Linked DNA regions of Homo sapiens: region 2 is linked to region 1. The links are contacts of gene promoters, found by promoter capture Hi-C in human tissues and cell types (Jung and others, 2019). All regions are on one chromosome and are shown on one strand. The core of a region is centred on a gene start or on the middle of the fragment in contact, and the rest is flanking DNA. Distances in the headings are between cores, read along the strand shown.

Region 1 (5,617 bases), core at 1,706-4,205:
ATGTTTTCTGCTTCCCTGGCTGGTGAAATCTTCATCAGGACCCTGCTCAGTGTCGCCTCCTCTCTGCGGAGTCCTCCAACTCCACCTGGCTGGGCAGTTGTACTTTGTTCCTCCGTAATAAAAATAACCATTAAAAAAAAAAAGAAGCTGTTGTTTATTAAGCAATTACTATATGCCAGGCAATAGGATGTGCACTTTTCACTCACTATCTTGTTGAATACTTCCCAAGGGCCTCGTGAGGTCAGTTTTTTATGTATCCTTATTTTAAAGATGAGGAGACTGAGGTTCAGAGGGATTAAGCCCCTTACTCCTTTGGTAAGAAGTAGAACCAGGATAAAAACGCAGATGGCAGGACCACAAAATATGTGCTTTTAACCAGGACACCGCAATAGTATTCATCGTGCCCCAACGTACTCCAGGGAGAAAATGAAAGTGGGGTGACAGCAAATCTCAACCCAATGGAATGACCTCTTAAAGTTGAAAGGGAAGGTGTTTGGATCCTCCTGCATGGGTTCAAATCTCCTATGTGATAGAGTATGTTTCTGACTTCCAATAAAGGGCCTGCAGGCCTTAGAGATGTTCTAGCCCCTTGCTTTTCAATGTGTACTCCAGGGACCCCAGTATGAGCATCGCCTGGAAGCTTGTTAAAAATTCAGCATCTCAGGTCCTACTGCAGATCTGCTGAACCAGAATATGCACTTTAGCAAAATTTCTAAGTCAGTCCTGTGCATATTGAGTCTAAGAAATGGACTTAGAATGAAGACAATGCAAGTCTCAAGTGCGATAGGAGGATTGAGATCACCTCTGACAGGTGCTACATTGCTTCCCCCACACATTCACACATACACGTGCATACACACATATACAACGCACACACACTTTTCACTTACTTGCTTCTGAGGTGTCAGTGGCTGCAGTTGTGATGAACCAAGAGGCCACCACCACCATCAGCATCCAAGTCAGAGATGGCTGCCCCATCCTTTCTGCTCTTCCCGCTACTTCAGGTCTAGATAGCACCTGCCCAAAGGAAAGACGGGTTGGCCCTTTGAATTTTTCTCTCTGTCTCTGATGTCTGGTGTCCTGTGAACAGAGATGGATGGGACAAATGCATGATCTAACTCTCCTCCCCACAGCTGGAAGGAGTGCTTTGATTGTATAGTATACAACTCCAGGAGGTGTCACTTATATGGACTAAAAAATTGCATAACACTGCAGCCCTTGTTTTGCTGGGACTTTACCCCTTGTACTCCCCCTCCTTACCTCACCAACATCCCAGTCTTGGCTCCCCAATTCTCAGCACATTGCACATTTTGAAGAACTCAGTCATTTGGAGCAGGAAGTAGCCAGATGGAATAGTGTTCTGGACTCACCACTTTACTGAAGGCAGCTTTGGATTTTAACTGATCCTCTGCCTGGAAACTTTCAATTTGCCTGGATCACTTATTCATTCAACAAACATCTATTGAGTAGCTACATTGTGCCAAACAGGGAGCTAGTCACCATGGAGAACAATGAACATGGCAGTCTGCTCCTTCATGCAACTCACATATCGTAAAGAAGTGGCTTGAGACGAGCAACTTGAGAGGTAATTAACCTTCACAATGCATTTAAATGTTTCTGGAGTGGTCACTTACTATTTCTTCCAATTGGAAAAATAGTCCAGGGTGGATGCCAGTATTACCCCAGTGTTTATAGCAGCAAAATAGGGTGGCATGTTGGTTAAGTATGTAGGAGCTGCAGCCTGCACCTGAGGTTCAAATCCCTGCTTTACTGATCACTAACACTGTGATGTGGGTATTTCAGTTTACTAAGTCTCCGTTTTTGTCTGTGAAATGGAGATTGTTGCTTTCACAAACTGAATATCTATGATGGGCCAGGCTCAGTTCAAAGACATTCATGTGCTCAAAGGCATTGGGTCCTAGAGCAACGTTTTCCAGATCTTCGTGACCATGATGTACTAAAAGAAAAACATTTTATGTTGCCAGGTGCAGTGGCTCATGCCTGTAATCCCAACACTTTGGGAGACTGAGGGGGTGGATCACAAGGTCAGGAGTTTGAGACCAGCCTGGCCAGCATGGTGAAACCCCATCTCTAATAAAAATACAAAAATTAGCCGGGCATGGTGGTGGGCGCCTGTAATCCCAGCTACTCGGGAGGCTGAGACAGGAGGATTGCTTGAACCTGGGAGGCAGAGGTTGCAGTGAGCTGAGATCGTGCCACTGCACTCCTGCCTGGGTGACAGAGAGTCCATCCCCCCCCCCCAAAAAAAAAAAGACAGAAAGAAAGAAAAACATTTTATGTCATGATCTAGTGCAGTCGCTTCTGCATGTATGTGCACACACACATAAAATTTTATAAGACAATTGATATCCTTACTACATTAAGTGATTTAATTCTTACCACAACCCTATGAGATAAGTATTATCCTAGTTTGCAGATGAGAAAACAGGGGGACAAAGAGGCTAACTGCTTGCCTCAAATTTGTATTGCTTACTGACATATTCTATTATATTTAATTAAAAGAAGTCCCTGGATATAACCCACAAAAGGAATGATTTTATGACCCGCTAATAAGATGCGACCTAAAACACTGCATATTGTCACTGGGATTAACTAAGATGACATATGTCGAGCAGGGCCCAGCACATAGCAAGTTGTTCATTGTTGTAACCCTGGTACCTGGCACATAATAGGTGCATAACTAATATTCATGGAATAAGTCAAAAAATAGTAGTCATTGTTACTAGGACAGAGAGGATCAAAGAGAGGAAAACTAACTTACTAAAGATCATGAAGCCAATAATTGGCAGAATAATGACTCAAATCCAGGTCTGACCCCAGTGTCCAAGGTCTTAATTTCCTCTCCTACCTCCCTCAAATAGGATGGGGAGAAGCTGGGCTAGGAGAAGACAGCTACAGATAGCCTTACCTGAAGCCAGAAAGGTAGAGTTAGTCTGGTCATGATGTGCCTCATACTTATATATACACATTTGCCCCAGGCTGGCAATCTCTCCTCCAATTAGTCTCTAGTTCTGTTTTTTGATATTGTTTTCTTGGGGGTGGAATATTTTTTCCTCCTGGCATAATGTTTGCCTTGTCCAAGCTGTGAGGTTGTTGTTGTTCTTTTTCCTAATAGCTAGAGACCCCAAATGATTGACATTGGGGGGTCACACCTGTGCCCGGAAATACAAGGTCACTGTTTCGCACCTTCTAACAGCAAGAGATTCCATAGTTAGAAATTAACTGGGAAAGCAGTGCCAAGGTGCTGGGCTTCTTCTTGGTCACTGACAAGGGCAGGGTGGGATCAAGGAGCCAGGCAGAAGCCAGTATCTGAAGCCAGGCTGCATAAGGACAAAAGGGATATTCACTGCCCCAGATGGGAGGTGCACCTGTCTTGGAGAGGGCACCCTTCTGAAACACCCATTCTCATGAGATCAGCCTTAGAATCCAGACACAAGCAAGAGAGGAGCTGAGAATGGCTGAAAGTCAGAACCAGAAGGTAGTTCAGACATCACTGGACCTGACCCACTCTGTACAACAAAGAATCAGGTCTGATGACTGGGAGGTCCCTTTGGAGGCGAAATAAATTTGCACTTAAATAGACTGACTTTGGAGTCAGTCTGCCTCCTTTATCTGGTGTTTATTGTGTGGCAGTGGGCTCATTTCTTAACCTTCCTGAGGTCCAGAGGTCAATTTCCTTGTCTATAAAATGAGAATACCCATCTCCCACAGTAGTAATAGTAACCAAAGGAGATGATGCAAGTAAAGTCATATAGTAATGATTATATTCATGGAAGTAGTGAAAATTCTGCTTTGCTGTTGTGCAATCACTGAGGTAGAAAATGACAGAGCCTGAGTTAAAACCATGTCTTCAGACCCAGTTCAACATACATGACATTCCAAAAGTCAGTGTGAGAGTGGCTGTCATCATGTTGAGAAAAATAAAATATGTGTGAACTTGGGCTGAGCAGGAAAATATCACCATGATCACTGCATTGATCTTTTTTTTTTTTATACTTTAAGTTTTAGGGTACAAGTGCACAACGTGCAGGTTTGTTACATATGTATACATGTGCCATGTTGATGTGCTGCACCCATTAACTTGTCATTTACATTAGGTATAACTCCTAATGCTATCCCTCCCCGCTCCCCGCATCCCACAATAGGCCCCTGGGTGTGATGTTCCCCTTCCTGTGTCCAAGTGCTCTCATTGTTCAATTCCCACCTGTGAGTGAGAACATGCGGTGTTTGGTTTTTTGTCCTTGCGATAGTTTGCTGAGAATGATGGTTTCCATCTTCATCCATGTCCCTACAAAGGACATGAACTCATATTTTTTATGGCTGCATAGTATTCCACGGTGTATATGTGCCACATTTTCTTAATCCAGTCTATCATTGATGGACATTTGAGTTGGTTCCAAGTCTTTGCTATTGTGAATTGCTCTTTTCAGGACATTTCTCCATCCTGTCCCACTCAGTGGTAGGGTAACCACTGGCACTGGTGTTGTCATCTCCTCAGGATTATGTCCAAGGAGTGGAAATTCTGGGTCAAAGAGGTAGCACAGCTGTAGGAATATTGACTCCTCTTCCCAAACAGCACCCCAGAGAATTATTATAAATTGGTTTACAATCCCACCAACACTACTCACCAGTTCTGAGCATTGGTAACTTGCTTTCATCTTTGCCAAAAGGATAAGTGGAAACGATCTCATTATTGTTCATTTTTGCAATTCTTTGATGAAAAGGGAAGTTATCTCTTCATTTATTTACTTTTTTTTTTCTGAACTAGTCGTTTTTATCCTATACCTTTTTCATGAGGCCTTGTCTAAACCTTATTATGGGTGTCTTCAAAGGATTAAAGACAGTGACCCCAGGTGGCTTCTGGAGTTTTCTTGACAAAGACTTGGGCAGGAAAATGGGGAGTTTGGGTTGGAATCTATTCATAAGTGTAATCACCATGCTTTCTAGTTTCTGTATTTGGTGCTTGTACATTTTGGGGCCTTACTGATCATGGAGGGACTGCCCCTCCCAGGGCTCAATAATTACTAGAGATCAAAAACGACTTATCTGTGAATGTGCCTTTCCGACTGCAAATCAATCAATCCAGACCACATACCCCCAACCCTTGGCCTCCTTTTTGGGGCTTTTACACTTAGGGTCACTACTTGCTGCTTTAGATCACCCCAAGGGACCAGGTACCAGACAACTAGAGACAACTCCTATGGCCCAGAGGTCTCTGAAATTATTCAAACTAAGCCAATCCTAAATCTGCTTACCTTGCCTCTCCCATTCCTTCCTGCAGAAACTACAATAAAGGCTCTTTCCTGCCTTTTCCCTTGCTCTCTTTGCTTCCTGACCGACCCTGGTACTTCCCAGCAGCTCTTCCTCTCCCTTCAGCCCCTCTGCCCAGTGTGGTGTGTCCCCTTCTCTTGGGATCTGTGAGTATAACAAGTTGTCAGTGGCCATAATTTCCTGCTCTGTTGCTCATCAAGTTCACCAAAGACATCCATGTTACCAAATTCAATCAATATTTTTCTCTTTATCTTACCTCTAGGACAGTGCACAATAAATATTTGTTTTTGAACGAACCTTAATCTCTCAGCACTTCGCTCTTGAA
Region 2 (5,617 bases), core at 1,995-4,494, 76 kb before region 1:
GGGAATGAAATTGTAGGCACTTATGGACTGTTCTTGCAGGGATAACCTTTACAAGAGGTGCCTTAATGGAGATGAAGCAATTTTGGATTAAGATAGATCTTTATGGAAAAAAATAAATGAAAATGACAGTAATACATTTGGTAAATCTGTGCAGATGCACAAGACATATTTTATGATGTAATGGGGATTTAAATGTGAATTTCAGCTCCAGAAAAAGGAAAGCATTGATTCTTTTGAAGGGGACTGGGGCTAGAAGAGAGGAAACTGTGACTCTCTGGAGACTTTCTAACCTGACGATAGCCAGCATCTTTTCTGCTGTATCTGATGTCATAGCCAAGGGCATGCCCTATTATTCTCCAGTGATTATAAGCTATAAAGCTATGTTTTGTCTCACCTTTGTTTATCAGCCTGGGCAATGGGCATGGTGAGAGCCTAGGTTTATCTTACAGGCCTATTGCTCCTTAGAGAAGAAAAGAGGAAGAGAAGTAAGGAGGAGTTTCAGATTCTTATTGGTTTAGCCAAGCACACAAAGATGGTATCAAGCCTCCAGAACAGCTGAGCCATCACCCCAGACCACAGCCATTGAGAGCACAATTGGCACCCTCAACTTCCAATAGAACTCTTGTATTCTAGGCAAAGCTTCTTAAGTACTACCCAGAATCCACTTCAATAGAGAATGTGAAGTTCAGCTACCCAGCAACATCCATCATTGATCTGCCCTGTGAGAAATCAGGTGGAAACCGTACACTGGACTTAGCAGAAAAAATAGATGCATGCACAGGTTTTGGATTCAGGAAGACCTGAGTTCGGATCTGAACTCTGAAACTTTCTTGCCAGGTGTGTGAACTCTGACAACTAAATTTAGCTGTTTGGAGGCCCAGTTCCTTCATTTATGATACGGGATTAACATATATTTTTATATCATAGTTGTAAGTTTTTATTATTAACCACCACCCTGGTTTGAAAGAGTCAAGACTTGAGATGAATTGGCCAGCTCATTGAAAATAAATTTGCAAGCTTGATAGAGGATGTGAAGTTCAACTATCCAGCAAAATTCATCATTGATCTGCCCTGTGAGAAATCAGATGGGAATGGTGCACTGGACCGAGCAGGAAAAAAAAAATGGTTTTGAGCCCTGACCCTATTGCTAACTTAATGTTTGATGTTAACTGTGTCCTTCCCATCCTCTGGACCTCTATTTCCTCATCTCTAAAATCCCTTCTGTGATCTCTGTTGTTCCAGCAAAATCTGGGCACCAATGTGATGACTCAGCCAAGGTCCCAGAGTGAATCAGCAAAGGCCAAGGAAGGACCAGTATCCCAATCTGGAGCTTTTTCCAGAGCTTTAAACAATGCCCTGCAAAAACCAGCTTAGCACTCATTTCATGCTGGGCATGATGGAATGTGCTGTGGTGGAGAGATGATGGTATGGAGATAAAACAAACAAACAACAACAACAACAAAACAAGGTCGCTGTGTGTGGTGGCTCACGTCTGTAATCCCAGCACTTTGGGAGGCTGAGGTAGGCAGATCACAAGGTCAGGAGTTCGAGACTAGCCTGACCAATGTGGTGAAATCCTGTCTCTACTAAAAATACAAAAATTAGCCAGGCATGGTGGCGCACACCTGTAATCCCAGCTACTCAGGAGGCCAAGGCAGAAGAATTGCTTGAACTCGGGAGGTGGAGGTTGCAGTGAGCCAAGATCACGCCACTGCACTCCAGTCTGGGCAACAGAGTGAGACTCTGTCTCAAAAACAAACAAACAAACAAACAAACAAAAAATGAAACAATGTCCCTGCCCATGAAGGGCTTACAATTGAGCTGATGAAACACAAACAGAAACCACATCATTTACCAGTTTCCCCAAAATCCTCTTCCTGCACATCTCATCACTCCATTTGTAGAAAGAAGCCCTATGAGCTCAGAACAGGCCTGTGGTTGAGCAGCTTCCACTCTGCCTCTCTGCTGATTCCTGCAGCTCTGCTCTTTCTCCTACTCTGGGCCTTGCACGTGCTGTTCCTACCACCCTCTTCTAATCTGCTTGCTTGGCTCATTCCTTTCAGAACTTAGTTCAGATCTCCCCACCTCCAGGAAGTCTTCCTTGATTCCCCAGAGTTGGGGTAGGTACTGCTTTTCAGTGCTCCCAGGGCCCCAGGATGCTCCTAGTGTAGCCCTTACTGGGAAGTGTTGTAGTTACTTGGTTTCTAATCCGTCTTCCACTCTGCACTGAAATTCCATGAGAAGAAAGAAGTTCAGTACCTGGGACATAGTTGGAGCTTCTTAAAATTGTTTATTCGCTACATTGCAGGGTTAAGCTTTGAAGAATGGGTAGGAATCAAATGGGAAGGGGGAAATGAACAGCATCCTTTAGGCATTGGGATGGAAACACATGCTTAAGTGTATGTGTGGGGTGGGGGTAACAAGTGACAGGGAATGTACAGTGTGGGGGCCGGAGCCATCTTTGGCTGAGCAGACCTTCTAGCCCACTGGCTTGATCTTAGTCCCCAGGGGTCTTCAGATTCTCCATGAGATGCACAATGGAGAAGCCTCCATCCCTGCCACATTTCCCTCAAGCATTTCCCAAGATTTGTTCTGGGTACTCACCTGTCCAGCAGCTGCTATTAGTGTTCAGACATTCTTGGGGGTCCATCTTCTAGGACAGGAGTCAGCGAACTTTTCTGCAATAGGACAGAGAGTAAATATTTTCAGGTTTGTAGGCCATGCAATTTCTGTAGTGAGTATGCCAATCTTATTAAAGCATGAAAGCAACTATAGACAATGTACAGACAAATGGGTGTGGCTATATTTCACTATAACTTTATTTACACAAACAGGCAGTGGGCCCTTTTCCACTATGCCTGAGTTTATACTAATGAGATGATTCAGAGTGGAGCCCCTAGATAGCTTCAGAATGGGGGCTGGGCACCAAAAAGACTACATGTGATTGTGTTGGGGGAGACTTTCATCCCTACTCACTGATGTCTGGGGGTGGGGAGGGGGACTGAAGATTGAGTTATAAAAACTCTTAATCAGTGAGATTCAGGGAACCTCTGGGTTGGTGGACACATTGATGTGCTGAGAGGGTGGTGCACTTGGGGAAGGCAGGCAAGCTCTATGCCACCCCATCATTCCCATACCTTGCCCTGTGCAATCTTTCATTTGCTTATTCCTGATACGTACCCTTTATAATAAACCAGCAAATGTAAATAAAGTGCCCTTCTGAGTTCTGTGTCATTCTAATGATTATTGAACCTGATGGAAGGTTGTGGGAACCCCTGAATTTGTAGTTGTCTGGGCAGCAGTGTAGGTAACTTGGACACCCGATTTGTGGCTGGTGTCTGCACTGGGGGCAGTCTTGAGGAACTAAGCTCTTGAGCTGTGGGGTCTGCACTAATTCTGAATAGTTAATAGTTAGTCAAAATAGAATTGAATTGTTAGACACCGAGTTGGTGTCAGAGAATTGGTTGGGTTGGAAAAAAAAAAACAAAAAACATGTGATGCCTTTGTAGGCCAGAATTTACCAACCTCTGCTTTATGGAAATGGTAGCATCATCTGAGAACAGGCAGCCCCTTCCCAAAGCCTCCAAATGTGCAGGAGTGGTTGCGGGCTTCTAGCTCATTCATGTTTGACAATTATTGAGCATCTACTATGTGGCAGGCACTGTGCAACCTGCTGGGCGTGTCATGGTAATCAAGATAGAAGAGATTCCTGTCCAGATGAAAGGCAAATTCTAGCAAACAAGGCCCGCAATAAGAAAATAAGAAAACAAAAGAACATTTCAGATCGTGATGGATTCCAGGAAGGGCATTTGTAGGGGATGTGATAGCACATAGTGTGTGCATGTGGGTGGGTTTGGGGATGCTGCTGTAGATACCTGTATTAATCTGTTTTCACACTGCTGATAAAGACATACCTAAGACTGGGCAATTTACAAAAGAAAGAGGTTTAATTGACTTACAGTTTCACATGTCTGGGGAGGCCTCACGATCATGGTGGAAGGCAAGGAGGAGCAAGTCACATCTTATATGGATGATGACAGGCAAAGAGAGCTTGTGCAGGGAAACTCCTATTTTTAAAACCATCAGATCTCATGAGACTTATTTACTATCACAAGATCAGCATGGGAAAAACCTGCCCCCATGATTCGATTACCTCCCACCGGGGCCCTCCCACAACACGTAGGAATTCAGGATGAGATTTGGATGGGGACACAGCCAAACTATATCAACACCTATGGGCAGGGAAGATGGTCTGTGAAGTTGACATTGAACGGAACCTCGAATAATGAGAAGGAGTGGGCCATAGGAGGAGCAGGAGGAAGAGAATTCTTGGAAGATGGAACAGCATATGCAAGATCACCCAAACTGGTAATAACCTGGCAGGTTCTAGGAGCTGAAAAGAGACCAGTGTGGGTGGAGTAAGTTTGTGAAATTTGTCTTTGGTTGAATGAGAGGACTCTCTACTCCATTGGCAGGACACAGCTATTTCCTTTAACAAGAAGGCATTGTGGGTGTATCTGTCATTTTCCCCTTTGGATTACATGAGAAAAATTATGATTGCTAATATTTGTTGGCTACTGTGCCATGTTAAGTGCTTTATTTTAATGATGTCTTTAAAGCCCAACAACAACTTTATGAAATATGGGCTATTATTTTTATTTCCATTTTGTAGTAGGGGAAACTAAGGCACAGAAGAATTTAATTAACTTGCCCCAAACACAGTTAGGCAGATCTGGGATTTGAACTGGCAGATTTGGGATTTGAACCCAGGAGTACAGATGACTATGCTCTCAGCTGCTAAACTATTCAACTATTTTCTTTGATTATGTTTCCCTCAGCCTCTTTGGGGGTAATGTATTTTCTCAAGTTCCCTGAAGTTGAGAGTCTGAGGAGGTTATACTAATAGTGGTAATACCTATTTCACTGACTGGCATCTCATCTGTGTAATGAAGGTCTTTGGGCTCTCCCTGCACTAGGCAAATTCTCACCCATAGAGTTTCACATAAACTCCCAGATAGTCCTCTCAGAGTGTGTATACTCCAAGTCCCTTTTCAGTGGCTATGTCTCACCAGCTCCCGCTGGAGCCATCTTGACAAATGCGTGAAGTCAAGGGTGGTGTCAATGGGTACTCCTCAAAGCTGGCAATCTGCAACACAGCAACAACATCAAAACGAGCCAGCACTTAGCAGATCCTTTCTCTATACCCATAAAAGCACCCTCCATGTAATAATTCATTTATCCCTCATAGTAAGCTTAGGAGGTAATCACTATTAATATACCCATTTTACAGATGAGAAAACCAAGGGGCAGACACATGAAGTAACTTGCCCCAAGTTGATTAGAAGAAGCAGAGCCAGGATTTGAATCCAGGTCATCTAGCCCAGAGCCTGCAGTCTGGTCCTACTGGATAATGCTGCATTCCCACTGTCATTCCTGAGCAGAAGCCACACTGCAGGCTGTGCCAAAATGACTCAAATGCTGCTCTCTGCCTGCATGTGCCCCACTTTGTCCCAGAGCCCCCAGAGCTGTATTGTCAGAGCCCCTCAAGTCTCACAGACACTCCTCAGCATCCCTCTCCTCAGGGCTCAGACACTAGCCGTGAAGCCTTTTTCTCAGA

Evidence for each region. The method cuts DNA at HindIII sites, captures the fragments that hold promoters and counts their contacts. A contact is called where the count stands out against the background at its distance.
Region 2: a fragment that was not itself captured here is called in contact with the fragment with the promoter of UMOD in region 1 in 2 of the 25 tissues and cell types used here (esophagus and pancreas).

What each region holds. Positions count from the first base shown.
Region 1 is chr16:20,349,760-20,355,376 of GRCh38, forward strand. UMOD (uromodulin) reads right to left here and starts at 2,956. Exons shown (of 11, transcript NM_003361.4): 1 at 2,930-2,956; 2 at 891-1,080. The coding sequence starts at 978. The HindIII fragment of the contact is 15,409 bases long and covers 1-5,617 here.
Region 2 is chr16:20,273,728-20,279,344 of GRCh38, forward strand. No RefSeq gene overlaps it. Among named protein-coding and RNA genes, the nearest start is that of GP2, 51 kb to the right of the region's middle. The HindIII fragment of the contact is 4,833 bases long and covers 829-5,617 here.